Regions from separate parts of the Homo sapiens genome. Here region 1 is linked to region 2. The links are contacts of gene promoters, found by promoter capture Hi-C in blood cells and fetal thymus (Javierre and others, 2016). All regions are on one chromosome and are shown on one strand. The core of a region is centred on a gene start or on the middle of the fragment in contact, and the rest is flanking DNA. Distances in the headings are between cores, read along the strand shown. Region 1 holds the start of ATG9B (autophagy related 9B). Region 2 has its middle 47 kb from the start of AOC1.

Region 1 (2,923 bases), core at 75-2,574, 120 kb after region 2:
GAGGAAGGTTGTGAAGGTGACAATGAAAATAAATTGTCTGCCGGGAGGAAGGGGGGGTGCCGGGATGCTGCAGTGATCAGGGACAGCCAGGTGGGCTCCTGCCCCAGCCCCCAGAGCAGCCCATGGTTATCCTCCCTGACCCTGCCCCTGCTGAGCCCTTGGGCTGCTCGGGAAAGCATGGGATGGAAGCAGCTGGCACAATTAAGGAAGCAAAATGACAGAAGGAAGCCATGGGCCCAGGGGACCGAGTTCCGGGCCCGGGCTAAGCGTCTCACCCCAGCTGGAAGACATCCTCCAGCAAGATGCAGGCAAAGCCATTCCGCTGGTGGTAGCTGTAGATGTGGCTGCGTGTCAAGGAACAAGCCTGAGGCACGGGGGGCCTCTCCTGAGGACACCTCCCCTCAGCCCCAACAAGTCTCCCACCCATGACGCCCTCACGGAGTCTCCCTGCCAAGAACAGTGCCAGCTCCAAGAGGACCTTCCCATGCCACCTCTGCAGGCCTAGCGCAAAGGATATCTTGGTGAAGAAACTGTCCAGGTTCTGGATGTGATGCCAGGAGCCTGGGCACAGAGGGGAGAGTGTCAGCCCCTGGCATGTGATCAATTCTCCACGTTCTCAACCCGCTGCCAGAGGCCCAGCCTGGGATAAGTACTGGAGCTCCCAGGCACCACTAACCCTCTCCCACCCACACCCACACACATACCTCGGAGCCCTTCAGGGACATGAAGCAGGGGTTGCTGCTCCTCCCCGTGGATGGGTGAGTCTTGGGACCCCTCAGGGTCACAGTCCTCCAGCCGCTCATAATCCTGTTCAGGGATCAAAGGGCCTACCCGCAGCCCAGGAGAGTCCTGGGGGCACTGCTGTGAGGGAGTGGGGGTTGCCGGGGCCAGGGGTGGGGTGGAGTGGGATCCCCAGGAGGGAGATGCAGAGGCAGGTGTCATTGCAGGTTGAGCCTGTGTTGGGGGGGTGGCTGGGATAGGGAGAGCACTGTGGCAAGACTGAGAAGCCCCTGTCCCCTGTAGCACTGAGCAAGGGGGCCCTGCGGTGGGAGGGGAAAATGAGGAGGGGGAGCTTCTTGTATGAGGGGCAGGGGACAGAGAGAAGATGGAGATCCTCCCTCCCCCAGGTCCCCGGCATGAAGGAGGAGGAGGAGGTGGCAGTGGCATGGGGAGGAGGGGCACCGATCCGGGCCCCAGATCTCCCCACCGCCCCAGCCGCCTTCTTCTCCCCCCCCAGCCCATTCGGCTCACCATCAGGCCACGGCTTCTCCAGAAAGGTTGGAAGGATGGGAGCTGTTGTTGCTTCCACAAAGGTCTGTGACACTGAGCTGGGACTTCAACAGGAACAATGACAACAACATTACTAGGTGACTCAGCCTAGGCAGGCCTCAGGCGTCCCAGCTCTCAGTCACCTGTCTGATCACTCACACCCCTTCCAGGGCAACCTGAGGCCAAATCCCTCAGGGCCTGAGAGGGGCATCAGTTTAAGAGGAGGGGCCAAAGAGCACATTGAGATGAGAAGATTCCTATTATCTCCATCTTCAGACCTTGAATGAATGAAAGATAAAAAGAACAGCAGCCAAAATGACAAAAGCAAAAAGCAAAATCGTGTTAGAGCCAGGTGTGGTGATGTGTGCTTGTGTTCCTAGCTACTCAAGAGACTGAGGTGGGAGGATGGCTTGGTGCAGGTTACACTGGAACAGTATAGGTTACAGTGAGCTAGATCCTGCCCCCTGCCACCCCCCCCAAAAACATCCTATTAAAGGATTGTAGCAGGGCGCAGTACCTCACACTTGTAATCAATCTCAGCACTTTGGGAAGCCGAGGAAAGAGGATTGCTTGAGGCCAGGAGTTCAAGACCAGCCTGGGGAACAGAATGAGAAGACTCCATCTCTACAACAAATCTTAGGACCAAGATGTTAACTATTTCATTTCTTAAGAGTGTACCTCCCCCACTTCCCTCCACACACACACTACAGTGATCAACAGAGAAATGTTTTGTGACCAAAACAGAAAAGAAGAAGTAAAGGGGCCAGGCATGTTGGCTTACACCCGTAATCCCAGGACTTTGGGAGGCCCGGGCGAGAGGATCACTTGAGGCCAGGAGTTCGAGACCAGCCTGAGCAACTTAGGGAAACACCATCTCTACAAAATCTAAAAAACAAACAAAATAATTTTTTTTCTTTTTGAGGCAGTCTCACTCTGTCACCCAGACTGGAGTATAGTGGCACAATCTCGGCTCACTGCAACCTCCGCCTCCCAAGTTCAAGTGATTCTTCTGCTTCAGCCTCCTGAGTAGCTGAGACTACAGGTGTGTGCCACCACACCCAGCTAATTTTTTGTATTTTTAGTAGAGATGGGGTTTCACCATGTTGGCCAGGCTGGTCTTGAACTCCTGACCTCGTGATCCACCCGCCTTGGCCTCCCAAAGTGCTGGCATTACAGGCGTGAGCCACTGCGCCTGGTCAAAAATAAATTTTTTAAAAAGAATAAGAAAAGGTTGCATGTTTTATTGGTCTGAGGTGCTAAGGAAGAGAAGAGGGGAGGCTGACTTTGCAGCCAAGTTGGGGAAAACTAAGAAGAGGAGGTGAAGAAAGGAAAGGCAGCTATCTTGGATTTGAGAGTTGGTTTGGAGAACTTAGAGTAGAAAATTGGGGTTCTCTGAAAGTTCCATTCCGTTTGCATCCTTATCATTTTCAACTGTGACATTCTCTCAAGTCCGGATCCCACTTCTGGGACCCCCTGAAAAGCATCAGGGCTGAATCAGAAGGGAGGACAGCTGTGAGTCTGGGACTTGGAAGGATAATTTGGATACCCAGGGAGGAGCTGAACTGAGTTCCTTGTTGTCACCTCAACAAGGAGGAGGAGACCCAGGCAGCTGGTCTGGTGGCTTGCCCAACGCCATTCTTGAGGCCCTGAATCA
Region 2 (3,179 bases), core at 680-3,179:
ACTGCTCAAACCACCGCAAACCAATTTTTCCAGGCTGCTGCCAGGTTAGGCTCCCTTGGTGTTAATTTCCTGCTCAGTAAAGCAGTGAGTCATCTCCCTCCCTTCTCTCCAGCTCTCACTATTGCTCTGAGACCAGAGTCTGCAGCAGAGGGGTCACATGGAATCCTTTAGTACAGAAGTTCACGACCTGGACGAGGAGACGCAGGGACCGCCAACTGGCTCCTTGGAAACTGCCCGCAGTTGATTCCGAAAACACACCTGAGCCGAGAAGCTCCATGCAATCTGGAATTCCTGGAGTTCTTGTCAGCGTCCACTGCCATGCAGGACTCTGGGGCACTTGGCTTGTCATTGGCTAAAAGATGGGCTGGGTTCGAGGTGCAGATAGCTGCATTTTAGCCGCTGGTGCTGTCTCGCTTGGAGGAATGCTGTCTGCCACGCGACCACCAGGTGGCGCACAACACCTCGCGGCGACTGGACCGGGCACGGCTGCCTCTTATTAATCCCGCGGAGAAAACAGAGGCTGGAAATGCCCCCGGGGTGAGGCTTGACCAAGAACGGCAGACTCAAAATGGCTCCCTGTGGACCAAGTTCAGCTGAATGGAACAGAAAAATGTGTTCACAGCGGCTTCAACAAGAGACAGTCGTGTTTCTCTGTAAACACAGTCCTGAGTGGCTTAGGGGCCCCATGAAGGCCTAGGGCACGCAGCCTCCTTCCTCCTCACGGCCTCCACCTGGGATGTAGCCCCCAGCCTCCTAGTCCACGGTGACTGCCAGAGCTCCAGCCATCTCATACAAGTCAGGCAGTAGGATGGAGGAGGGGACAGAGAAGGGTATGGCTACCTTCACTGTGCTTTGCCGGAATTCACAGACATCACTTGTCTTACAACTCATTGGCCAAGCCTTAGCCATGGAGGCTGGGGGTGGGCTCTTTTGCTGGGCTTTGCCACCCCCAAGTAATTTCAGGCTTTAGTTTAGAAGAAGAATATGAGGATGGCTATCTCACGGCGACGTCAGCCACATGTGAATATGCGCCACTGGAGTTCCCCTGCGCCAACCCAGCATATTTCCCATTCCCTGGAAACCTCAATAACTGGGGCTCACTTCCTGCCTGCCCCTTAACCGATTTGACTCCCAAATATATGTCCCATGTCCATATTCTTCTCTTACACGCCAAGACCTGTACCTCTACCTAAACGTCCTGTGAGAACCTCACACTCCACATGTCTAAGCCGGTTTATCACCTCCTCTATCCCCTGCACAGGCCAGCCCTTCCTCCTGTGCTCCCCAGCCCAGGGTCTATCATCATGTCCCTTGACCCAAGCCAAGAACCGAGAGCCTAGGCACCTGCTTCCCTCCACACAGCCCCTCTGCCATCTACCCGTGAGTCCCACCTTCCCAGCATTTCCTGAATTCGTTCCATCTTTCCTTTCCCCATGATGACTTACTGCTCATCACCCTGAGACCCCAGTCTCGCCTCCATCAGACCAACCTCAACGCGGCTTCCAGAGGGGTTGCTCTGAAATCCAGATCAAACCCTGTCACCCTTCTGATTGAAGCCTCCATGGCTCCCAAAATTTTCAACGTGATTTATCAAGACCTTGAGAATCTGACCCATCCCTACATCCTCCACGTATCAGTTAGCATGGGGTAAGCATTTAACATGTGCACAAACCAGGCAGTGACTCCCTCCGTCCTCACAGCTCCTCTCTGAGGTGGCGGGTGACAGTCTGGGTTATTATTATTCAGCAAATACTCACACTCCTCCCGTATAGACTCCCCTGCTCATTGATGTTGGACTTGACCACCTGACGTGTTTTGGCCCTGGGGCTGTTGGAGGATGGAACTAGCAGAAGCACTCCATGCGCCCACATGGCCTGGCTCCTTCTTTCCACTCCAGAAGTCCAGGGTAAGAAGAGCTTCCTCCAGAGAGCCTCTGCTGTGCCCCAGGACAAACTTGGTGCAACCACCTGAACTTGCGTCAAACCCAGGCTACCTACAGCCTAAGGCAGGGCCGTCCAGCCACACCTATCCTGGATCAGCCAAATTATAGCCATCTGAGACCTGTGAGTATGAGAGTAATTAACACTGGTTGTCATAATGCACTGAGTTTGAGAGCTGTTTGTTATTATGATTATTATTTTAGAGACAGAGTCTCTCTCTGTCTTCCAGGATGGAGTGCAGTGGTGCAATCACAGGTCACTCCTGCAGCCTTGAACTCCTGGGCTCAAGCAGTTCTCCCACCTCAGCCTCCTAAATATCTGGGACTACAGGTGTGCACCATGCCTGGCTAATTTTTTTTTTAGAGTAGGGGTCTCACTATGTTGCCCAGGCTGGTCTCAAACTCCTGGGCTCAGTGATCCTCCTGCCTCGGCCTCCCAAGGCGTTGGGGTGACAGGTGTGAACCACGGCACCTGGCCTGGGCAGCATTACTTTGACAAAATTATGACATCCTCATTTCCAGCCACACCAAAACTTGTTTCCACCTCAGGGCCTTGCATCTTCTGATTCCTCTGCGTCTGCCTCTCCTGACCTTAAAAGGTAAACCCAGCGCATCCAGTTCAAATGTCACTTCCCAAAGAGACTTTCTCCACGGCGACCCAGCCCCCACAGCCCTGTCTTCTGCCCTCACTGTTGCTGTAGGGAATTGCCTTATGCACTTGCACTTACTCTGTCTCTCTCTCCAGTGAGAACCCAGGCTCTGTACCATGGAGCACTCGCGGGTACCGGGGCCTCTTCCCTGTGCTTACCCAGCTGCTCTCACCCCTGGCCTCACTTGCCTCTCTGCCTCGCTGGGTTGAAAGCCCCTGGCTCATTTTTACACCTCCAGGACCTACACCTCTGGGACCTGGAACACAGCAGGCCCTCAGTAAACCTGGAATTCCAGTCGACTCTGGTGTTTCCAGCTTGCTGCGGGGAGGGCACCTTCTTTCTGGATGGAGGGGACCCTAGCCTGCTTCTGGACTCTGGGTGGGATGGAGGAGTCTCCCAGTTTAGAGACACTTTTCTAGAGTCCAGACTGGCCTTACTCTGTGATATTGTCCCTGCCCCCAGCTCCAGAGCAGGAAGAACCGGCCCAGGGCAAGGTCTGTAACTCGGGGATCAAAGGGCTGCTGCTGCAGCCAAGCCTCTGCAGAGCGAACTTGAGCTCCCTCCCCAGCCACACTGCACATGCACTGCAC

What was found. Contacts are between HindIII fragments. The CHiCAGO score rates a contact against its expected background, and 5 or more counts as called.
Region 1: a contact is called between the fragment with the promoter of ATG9B here and a fragment that was not itself captured in region 2, in 1 of 17 cell types (non-activated CD4 T cells). The highest score is 6.1, in non-activated CD4 T cells.

What each region holds. Positions count from the first base shown.
Region 1 is chr7:151,023,170-151,026,092 of GRCh38, forward strand. ATG9B (autophagy related 9B) reads right to left here and starts at 1,325. Exons shown (of 14, transcript NM_001317056.2): 1 at 705-1,325; 2 at 518-561; 3 at 276-340; 4 at 1-37. The coding sequence starts at 1,254. LOC124901777 (a long non-coding RNA gene) reads right to left here. Exons shown (of 3, transcript XR_007060593.1): 3 at 1,826-1,864. RefSeq lists an enhancer at 2,236-2,840. The HindIII fragment of the contact is 8,592 bases long and covers 1-2,923 here.
Region 2 is chr7:150,898,212-150,901,390 of GRCh38, forward strand. No RefSeq gene overlaps it. Among named protein-coding and RNA genes, the nearest start is that of AOC1, 47 kb to the left of the region's middle. RefSeq lists an enhancer at 310-604 and silencers at 310-470, 488-547. The HindIII fragment of the contact is 3,989 bases long and covers 1-3,179 here.